Linked DNA regions of Homo sapiens: all the other regions are linked to region 2. The links are contacts of gene promoters, found by promoter capture Hi-C in human tissues and cell types (Jung and others, 2019). All regions are on one chromosome and are shown on one strand. Each heading gives the region's core, a stretch centred on a gene start or on the middle of the fragment in contact. The rest is flanking DNA. Distances are from core to core; before and after follow the strand shown. Region 1 overlaps UBR1 (ubiquitin protein ligase E3 component n-recognin 1). Region 2 holds the start of STARD9 (StAR related lipid transfer domain containing 9). Region 3 overlaps TMEM87A (transmembrane protein 87A).

Evidence for each region. The method cuts DNA at HindIII sites, captures the fragments that hold promoters and counts their contacts. A contact is called where the count stands out against the background at its distance.
Region 1: a contact is called between a fragment that was not itself captured here and the fragment with the promoter of STARD9 in region 2, in 2 of the 25 tissues and cell types used here (H1 embryonic stem cells and aorta).
Region 3: a contact is called between a fragment that was not itself captured here and the fragment with the promoter of STARD9 in region 2, in 1 of the 25 tissues and cell types used here (aorta).

What each region holds. Positions count from the first base shown.
Region 1 is chr15:42,957,359-42,960,474 of GRCh38, reverse strand. UBR1 (ubiquitin protein ligase E3 component n-recognin 1) reads left to right here. Exons shown (of 47, transcript NM_174916.3): 44 at 2,385-2,462. Among named protein-coding and RNA genes, the nearest start is that of TTBK2, 38 kb to the right of the region's middle. The HindIII fragment of the contact is 3,871 bases long and covers 1-3,116 here.
Region 2 is chr15:42,574,288-42,577,287 of GRCh38, reverse strand. It overlaps STARD9 (StAR related lipid transfer domain containing 9), which reads right to left and starts at 1,682. Exons shown (of 33, transcript NM_020759.3): 1 at 1,526-1,682. The coding sequence starts at 1,572. RefSeq lists a silencer at 1,545-2,174. The HindIII fragment of the contact is 9,099 bases long and covers 1-3,000 here.
Region 3 is chr15:42,251,963-42,255,337 of GRCh38, reverse strand. All of the region lies in intron 6 of TMEM87A (transmembrane protein 87A), which reads left to right. Among named protein-coding and RNA genes, the nearest start is that of GANC, 20 kb to the left of the region's middle. The HindIII fragment of the contact is 5,333 bases long and covers 1-3,375 here.

The DNA of each region.
Region 1 (3,116 bases), core at 219-2,718, 380 kb before region 2:
TTCTTGGAGTGGCTGTCCTTTTCCTCTTAGATTATTAGAAGCCAGCAGTTCCTCTTAAGAGAATCTTTTTTAAGCTAGCACATACCTGTCAAAAGGCAAAGTTGGAGGAGGCATCATGGAGCTGCTGGTGTATTAACTTCAAAAGGTAGTGGTTTACAATATTTCTATAAGCCACTTTTGTTTTTGATTTTTTTTGTTAGAATAAAGCAAGATATACATAGAACTATATCCTTTTTCCTTCCTGTGTCCTTAGAAACTACCCCAAAAACTTTTCTTCAGCCCTCTTATCTCCCTTAAGTTGTCTCTAACAAAATCTACTTCTTAAGTACTAATTTAAATGCCACCTCCTCCATGAAGCCTCCCCTAATATAGTCTCTCTCATAAATGTCCACTTGTTTGCACCCAGAATAACTGACGAATAAGAACTGCATGCTTATTGTCTTTGTATCCCCTCCGAGGGCCTGACTGGTATTGTATACGGTGTCTAATTTTACTCACTTGAATCACATCTATAAACAAGTGGAGGAATTGACTCCCAGCTTTAAATACCAACACTAGTACCATTTTCCTGTGGATAAAGCAAACTTCAAGACAGTGCACATTTGCCGCCTTTTCTCATCTTCTCTCACCCTGGAACTCCTTTCACCTCCACTGTACATGTGCATATGCTGCTTTCACTTGTAACACATCTTTAGAGATTTAGTGATAATAGATCCAGCCTCTGTGCTCAGATGCAGTAGGAGTCACATCACTAAGAAAAGATCTTCGAGTAGAGAAAAAAGAAAAGTTTAAGATATGAATACATATTTTTGGACTGTTAATCTCACACAATTTTTCCTTTATTTCAATTCACTGTACACCTTTTATACATCTGCTATTTACCCAGCATGGTACTGAAATACTCTGGAAAATTTAAAAGAGGTAACATAGCTTTTGGTCATGAGTCATCTACAATCTAGTTATGAACATAAAACTTAAGACATTATAACATAAAGTATAATGATGTATGGAATATACCATTAGTGCTATAGAAATTTAAAGAGGAAAAGATTGTTAATGAGGCAAGGTTAGTCTTAGAGATCATTTTTAGCTGAGTATAGAAATAATTATAAAATTTAAGCCAGGCACAGTGGCATGCACCTGTAGTCCCAGCTACTCAGGAGCCTGAGACAGGAGTATTGCTTGAGCCTAGGAGTTCAAGGCCAGCCTGGGCAACAGAGTGAATACTGTCTCTAAAAAAACAAACCAAAAAGTGTCTAGGTTTGCCAAATAAATGTTATGGTTGTACTAAATATAGACAACTGAATTGAAGATGAAAAGAATTACAGAATTTAAATTGATTGGGGCCAGGCGCCGTGGCTCACACCTGTAATCCCAGCACTTTGGGAGGCCAAGGTGGGCGGATCACCTGAGGTCAGGAGTTCGAGACCAGCCTGACCAACATGACGAAACCCCGTCTCTAGTAAAAATACAAAAAATAGCTGGGCATGGTGGCAGGCGCCTGTAATCCCAGCTACTCAGGAGCCTGAGGCATGAGAATCGCTTGAACCCAGGACGCGGACGTTGCAGTGAGCCGAGATCGCACCATTGCACTCCAGCCTGAGGGATAGAGTGAGACTCTGCCTCCAATAAATAAATCAATAAATTGGTTGATTGGTTGATTGACTGGGGTTTGAGGAGAGAATTTCACATTATTCAGATGATCTTCCCCAATACATGCAAGCAAGGCTTTTATTGTATCTAGTTTGGTGAGAATGAGTAACATTTGCAAGCATGTATTAAGTACTAAGTATATTGTGTTTTACTTCAGTATCTCATTTAGTCCTCAACCGCTCTATATGTTTCCTTAATGCTAATATTCATATTTAATTTGACATTTCTTAAATCAATATTAGCCTTTTAATTGATAAGTTCATTTAATGTAATGTTTCTCTCCCTCCCTTCCCCAGAACCTGATTTGATGGTGGCCCCATGATTGGAGTATGGTATATTTTATCCCTAGTTTACAGACAGGGAAATACAGGCTTAGGTTCAAAGACTTGTGAAGTGTCAGAGAATTTAGGATTTGTAACCAGCTCTAATTTCAAAGGCTGTGTTCTTAACTACTACTTTATGTTACTTCCCTATACAGTACAGAAATCTAGCTATAACAGTTTAGTCCTAGAAACTAGAGGAAGTTAAGTTTGGAAAGGAATCCAGCTGATGAAAGATTTGGAATTATAGGCTGAGAAGTTTGGATTTGATCAAGTCAACAGTGGGAATTACTTTGGATTGCAAGTGTAGATCCTTTTGTTATTTTTAAGACATTCTTCTATCACTTTGGGCAGTTTTTGATCTGGGGTTATTTACTCTAAAATAAAATTGCCTTTTAAATTACATTGTAGGTACCCTAGAAAAAGAAATAGTTTGATAGAGCTTCCTGATGACTATAGCTGCCTCCTGAATCAAGCTTCTCATTTCAGGTAAGGAGAGTGTGTATATATATGTGTGTAATTTTAAATCATTTTCTGAACTCGCAATTGGTATATGCCATAACTAACACACTTCCTTGTTTTTGTTTTTTTGTTTGTTTTGGTTTGGGTTTTTTTGTTTTTGTTTGTTTGTTTTTTAGACAGGATCTTGCTCTGTTGCCCAGGCTGGAGTGCAGTGATTTGACTATAGCTCACTGCAGCCTCAAACTCCTGGGCTCTTCCCATCTCAATCTCCCAAGTAGTGAAACTACAGGCAGGCGCCACCATGCCCTGCTAATTTTTTTAATTTTTCATAGAGACAAGGTTTCGTTATGTTGCCCAGGCTGGTCTCGAACTCCTGGGCTCAAGTGATCCTCCTACCCATTGGCCTCCCAAAATGTTGGGATTACAGGCATGAGCCACTGCACCTGGCCACAAATTTCCTTTTTTAGCGGTGACCTCTGAGTATCCTTCATAACAGTGGTTGTCAATTTTTTTTAAGTTGAGGGGAAATCCACATAACATGCAATGAACCATGATAAAGTGTACAGTTCAGTGGCATTTAATGTATTCAAAATGTTGTACAATCACCACCTCTTTAGTTTGCAAACTTTTTCGTCACCTTGTACTCACTAATCACTTCTTATTCCCCTCATCCCGTACCCT
Region 2 (3,000 bases), core at 433-2,932:
CAGCTGCTGGGGAGGCTGAGGCAGGAGAATGGCGTGAACCCGGGAGGCGGAGCTTGCAGTGAGCCGAGATCGCGCCACTCAACGCCAGCCTGGGCGACAGAGCGAGACTCCATCTCAAAAAAAAAAAGAAAAAAGAAAGAAATTCCTAGTGTCCAAGGAACTGAGAAGTTACTGAATGTTAGGAGTGGTCAATACTGTTATCCTGAGAACCCTAAAAGAACAGTTTCACAAATACAGAATATACCAGAGACTACCTCCAGCATAGCATCTGCACTTATAAAACCCCCCCCAGCCCTGAGCTACCACATCCAGTTATGAAGAAGCCAGGTGTCACAAGCCATTTACCAATCAAAACGCAGCAGGTCAGGCATCTGCTTTCCCTCTTTCTTCAGTGTACCTCTTTTGCCTTCTTCCTATTCTCTTTAACTTTTTGTTTCTTTCTATCTCATTGCTCTTCTCATTAGTCTGTCAATTACAAGACTTTTCAAAGCCAATCATTTCTATATGAGGACGAACATAATCCACACTAGTACCCAATTTTATTATGGGAGACGATACCTTTCTTGATCCTTCTGCCCAATTATCAAGCTATCTTATGTCCCAGAGATTTTTAAACTTGCCAAATAATTCCAACATGTGCCTCCTGGTCCCCAAAGCACCCTCTGCCAGATTTACCTTCCACCACTCACTTCCCTCCACACCAACCACCCTTTCCCCACCAAAACTTAACCTCTAGTTAGTCCCTTACAGTCTAAGTCCTTTGCTCTTGGCGGTCTTACTACATAGAAGGCTCTTTAAACTCTCTCCACCTGTCAACAAACTCTAATTGATCTTTAAAAAACACTTCATCTGGTGACAAAGAGAAAAAAGTTCGTGGCTGCACACTGGATGTCTCAAGGGCTGAGATGAGAGGTGCGGAATCAAAATAAGCCACGAGAAAACGGGCACTGAGGGCTCTGAGAGAAAGAAGGGGTTGGAACAACTTCCCCTACTTAACAGTTCCGTCCTGGATTAAATCAGCTGTCGAGCATAGAAAGAAACCGCGACCTGTGTCGGCCTCAATTTCCCCCTCACGCCCTCACCTTCTGCTTTCTCCACATCTTCGCAGAGAAGCCCACGCGCACCCAGAAACACACACCATTCAGCCTCAGTCCTCATGGGTACTCCCAAGCCCCCAGAAAGAGAGAGGAGAATGCTCATCCCTCTCCCAGCCTTTCTCAAAGGCCCAACCCGATGCAGCAAGCCTCGAGCCGCCGTCCCTCGAAACTCCTGCTGGCAGGACGCCAGCGACGCTCACCCAGGGCAGCCCTCCCGCGGCCGTCCGGGAACCGCTATCCCCAGGACACAACGCGAAAGCTCGACTGAGGTCCCGTCCCGCCAGGCCTCCGTGGATTCCGGACCCCGACCCCCCGGGTCACTTTGTCACCGATTTCTGCGCGCCAGAATCTCTGCAGGGGGAGACGCGGACCTCCCGCTCTTTTCAGCTCCTGTGAAGCCTCAGGCGCCCTCTCCCGCGGAGACTCACCTCTTGCTGAGCGGCCGGACCCGCACGGCGACCTGCACGTTCGCCATCCGTCTGCCACAACCCAAGTCCAGCGGGTCAGCTCAGCGGCAGCATCCCAGGCCCCCGCCCTAAGCCCAGACACAGCCCCAACCCAGCCCCGCCCGCCCCACGCGCCTCTGGGGACGCCGCCGCGCGGACGCGAGCTGCCGCCCGAGCGGGGCGGTGCCTGCCTAGCTTCGGCCAATCCTGAGCCCGGTGGGCGGGAGAACTCCCGGCCCCGCCTCCCCTCAATCCTCCTTAAAGCCTCCTGACTCGCCCCCGCCCAAACACGCGCCGCAGCCAGAGCAGGCGGGCCCGTGTGGACGTTCGGCCAGTCCTTAGCCTGGTGGGCGGGAGGATGCCAGGGCTCGCTCCGCCTCGTTCCATCCGAAGCCTCCCGGGTCGCCCCCGCCCAAACACGCGCTGCATCCCGAGCTGGGTGGTGCCCGCCGAGCCTTGGCTAGTCGGTGGGCGGGAGGACGCCCGGGCTCGCCCCGCCTCGCTCCGCCCTACAGCCTCTTGGGACGCCCCCACCCATGCGCGTGCCGCACCGGGCCCAGCAGTGCCGGCCCAGCTTCAGCCAATCCTGAGCCGAGTGGGCCGCGAGGACTCAGTGCTAAGTCTGTTGTTCCTGGCCCCGCTTACCCAGAAATAGTTTTTGTTCCTCGACTAGGTGTCCGTGCTATGTAAAGTCAAGTAAATCAACTTTTGGTCCGAAAGTTTGCAAAGTAATTTGCTAAATACTTTTATTCTCTGCGTTCGCTTGAACTGTCAATTCTGTGGTTAAATTTTCGAGGCAGGCCGGGTGCAGTGGCTCACGTCTGTAATCCCAGCACTTTGGGAGGCTGAAGCGAGATCACCTGAGGTCAGGGGTTCGAGTTCAGCCTGACCAACCTGGTGAAACCCCGTCTGTACTCAAAATACGAAAATTAGCCGGGCCTGTTGGCGTGCGCCTGTAATTCCAGCTACCCGGGAGGCTGAGGCAGGAGAATTACTTGAACCCTGGAGGCGGAGGCTGCAGTGAGCCTGGATCGCGCCACTGTACTTCAGCCTGGGCGACAGAGCAAAACCCTGTCTAAAAAAAATAAAATAAAAAAATAGAAGGCAGTCCCTTACTGGCAAGGTACTTCCTGACATCAGGGACAAAGCATAGATGGAACCAATTCAGATAAAGGGTTATTGTCCAGGTCTTCTTGTACAACCAAAAGACAGGTGGCTGGTGTTTATCTTTTCCCTTCAAGGCTTGAGGGTTAGCAGCCATATAGATAAGGGCAGTGCTGATCATAAACCCAACTGCATTTGCACAAAATATTAGCGTATCCCTTCCTGCCTTAAATCCTGGTGCTTGCTTCTCTTCCTTACTAATAAATGTCCTTTGTGGCATTTATTTTTCCAGAATAGGGAACTTGCATATGCACCGAAAAGCTGTTCAGGCAGATACCCTTTCTTCTCAATTA
Region 3 (3,375 bases), core at 637-3,136, 320 kb after region 2:
CAACGTGGAGAAAACCATTTCTACTAAAAATATAAAATTAGCTGCGCATGGTGGCACATGCCTGTAATCCTAGCTACTTGGGAGGCTGAGGCAGGAGAATGGCTTGAACCTGGGAGGTGGAGGTAGCGGCGAGCCAAGATCGTGCCATTGCATTCCAGCCTGGGCGACAAGAGCAAAACTCCGTCTTAAAAAAAAACAAAACCCCCAATTTACCCAGCATGGTTGTGCATGCCTATAGTCACCGCTACAGGGGAGGCTGAAGTGAGGATCACTTGAGCCCAGGAGGTCAAGGCTGCAGTGAGCCATGATCATGCCACTGTACTCCAGTCTAAGCAATAAAGCAAGACTCTGTCTCAAAAAAAAAAAAAAAAAAGGAGACCTCCCACATGCTGTGTCTATACCTATACACTTAGCCTCCCCCATCGTCAACATACTGCACCACTGTGGCACACTGTTAAAGTTGATGAACCACGTTGACATGTTATTATCAAAGTCTATAGTTTAAGGTTCACTCTGCAGTGTACATTGTATGAATTTTGATAAATGTGTAAAGACATCTTCACCTTTGTAGTATCATACAGAATAGTTTCAGTGCCTAAAAATCCTCTGTGCTCTGCCTGTTCATCTCTCCCTTCCCCTTCAACTCCTGGCAATCATTGATCTTTTTACTATCTTCATAGTTTTGCCTTTTCCAGAATGTCATCTAGTTGGAATTGTACAAATATGTGACCTCTTTAGATTGGCTTCTTTCAGTTAGTAATATGCATTTAAGTTTCCTCCATGTCTTCTGGTGGCTTGATAGTTCATTTCTTTTTAGTGCTGAATCATATTCCATTGTTTGGATATATCACAGTTTATCCATTCATCTATTGAAGGACATCTTGATTGCTTTCAAGTTATAACAATTATAGATAAAACTGTTGTAAACATTTGTGTCCAGGCTTTTATGTGGACATAAGTTTTCAACTCATTTGGGTAATTATCAAGGAGCATGACTGCTAGATTGTATGGTAAGAGTATGTTTAGTTTTGTAACAATTGCATTTTTGACAATGCAGTGCTTAATCAAAAACAATGTTTTGGGAACAAAACTACTCTTGTAGGCTGTCTGTCTGACAGCATCAATAACTGGATTGTCACTTGTAGCTTTAATTACCTTACTCATGGGGTTAAAAGGTTCTTTTGAAGGGCACTTACAATTTTGAGATCATACCATGAAGACAGTGCTTTAAAAACAGTTCTGTTCACAAGCTAGTGGTAGACTGTGAAAAAGAGAAAAAAAAAAAGAAAAAAATAGTTTTGTTATGGAGAACAAAATAATTAATAGTTGAGATGGTAGTTAAGAGCCCAGGCTCTCGGGTCAGATGTCCTAGACTTTGAAATCCCAACTTCACAACTTAATATTTCCCTTGGAAATGTTATTGTGCTTCAGTTTCTTACATAATAAAATGGAGCTAATAGGAATGATATTACCAAGAATTGTGGAGTAGTGAGGTCCAGGTCTCCATGCCTCCACAAAAGCAACTAGTAAGCTGATGAAAGCTATCACATTCAGCTTTCACAGAACTTTGAAATCTAACCAAAACTTAATAAGGAAAAAGTTCAACAAAGAAAGAAGCTGCTACATTACATTAAGAAAGTGCAGTGATATTGTAATTTGTTTACCATACCCTCCTTCCCAGTTCAGAGGCAGGAAGATGGCAACTCGCAGTCGTGGTGCAGGTTGCTGGTGCCAGGGGAACTAATACAGACCTTTTTCTTAAAGACTTGCCATTGTGTGTTTTCACCTGCCTGGAGGCTCCCTGAAGGAACCTTGCCAGGACTTAACTTTGTTTTCCCCAACTTAGAGTGTTCCCAGGGCTGGAGTGGCTTCCTGGGTTGTGTTTGCCAAAAGCATTTGAATGCAGAAGTATTATGTGCATAGGGAAGGGGATAACAGTGGGGATAAGCAATAGAGAGACTGTCAAGCATGAGAAGGAAAGGGTCCAGAAAGGAGATTTGTGGGAGAACAAGGCTTTTTAAGGCTTCTGTGTATATTGAGCTATGAAGAAAGCCATATATATTCTCAAGACTGGACATACGATCAGAAAAGACCTTAGATGACCCTAAGCTTTCATTCTGGCTCTGTACAAGCAAAAAGTGAAGAATAAGGAATGGCTTTAATTGGCCCAGCTAAGCATTGAAGGATTGCGCCAGGGTGCAAAGACTGGGAGGATATTCTGTTCTTTTTTGTCTTTGGCTCCTGGTGTTTAAGAAATCTTTGTCAAAACACTAGCTGACCACTAAGCTAAAGGAATATAGATTCCAGTAGCCACACAGGTCTAAGAATGCAGACTTTACAAAAATGGTTTAGAAAACTTACTAAGCAAAAGAGACATAACCCATATTATTATTACCAGCTAACAAACCCCAAGGAGGGGGCAGATTGTGGTTTCCAGAGTTGCCACTTTATAACATTCAGTTTTCAGTGGAAAATTATGAGGCATGCACAGAAACAACGTATGGCATATTTACAGGATTAAAAAAAATACATGCTTTGAAGAGGAAGCCTCAGCATTAGACTTACCAGACCAAAGATTTTAAGTGAACTGTCTTAAATATACTCAAAGAGCTAAAAATAAAAAAACCATGGATGAAGAAACTAAAGGAAACCAGGAGAACATAGAGATAAAAATGATAAAAAGAATGAAGATGAGCCTGAGAGACCTATGGGACACCCTCAGGTGTATCAACATCCACATAATAGGAATTCATCAGAGGGAGAAGAGAGGGAGAAAGGTATGGGAAGAATATTTGAAGGAATAATGCCCAGAAACTTACCAAATTTGATGAAAGTATGAATTTCAGAAAGATTGAGAGGCTCACAAATCTCAAACTACAAGCAGGAATGAAAAAGTAAAATGTTGTATGTTCATAAAATGGAATATCATTCATCTGTAAAAATGAATGGGAGCTGGATTCCAAGATGGCCAAATAGGAACAGCTCCGTCTACAGCTCCCAGCGTGATCGACACAGAAGACGGGTGATTTCTGCATTTCCAACTGAGGTACCTGGCTCATCTCACTGGGAATGGTTGGACAGTGGGTGCAGCCCACGGAGGGCAAGCCGAAGCAGGGCAGGACATCACCTCACCCAGGAAGCGCAAGGGGTCGGGGGATTTCCCTTTCCTAGCCAAGGGAAGCCGTGACAGACTGTACTGGGAAAACTGGGACACTCCCGCCTTAATACTGCATTTTTCCAACAGTCTTAGCAAACGGCACACCAGGAGATTATATCCCGCACCTGGCTCAGCGGGTCCCACGCCCACGGAGCCTTGCTCACTGCAAGTGCAGCAGTCCCAAATCGAACTGCGAGGTGGCAGCCAGGCTGGGGAAG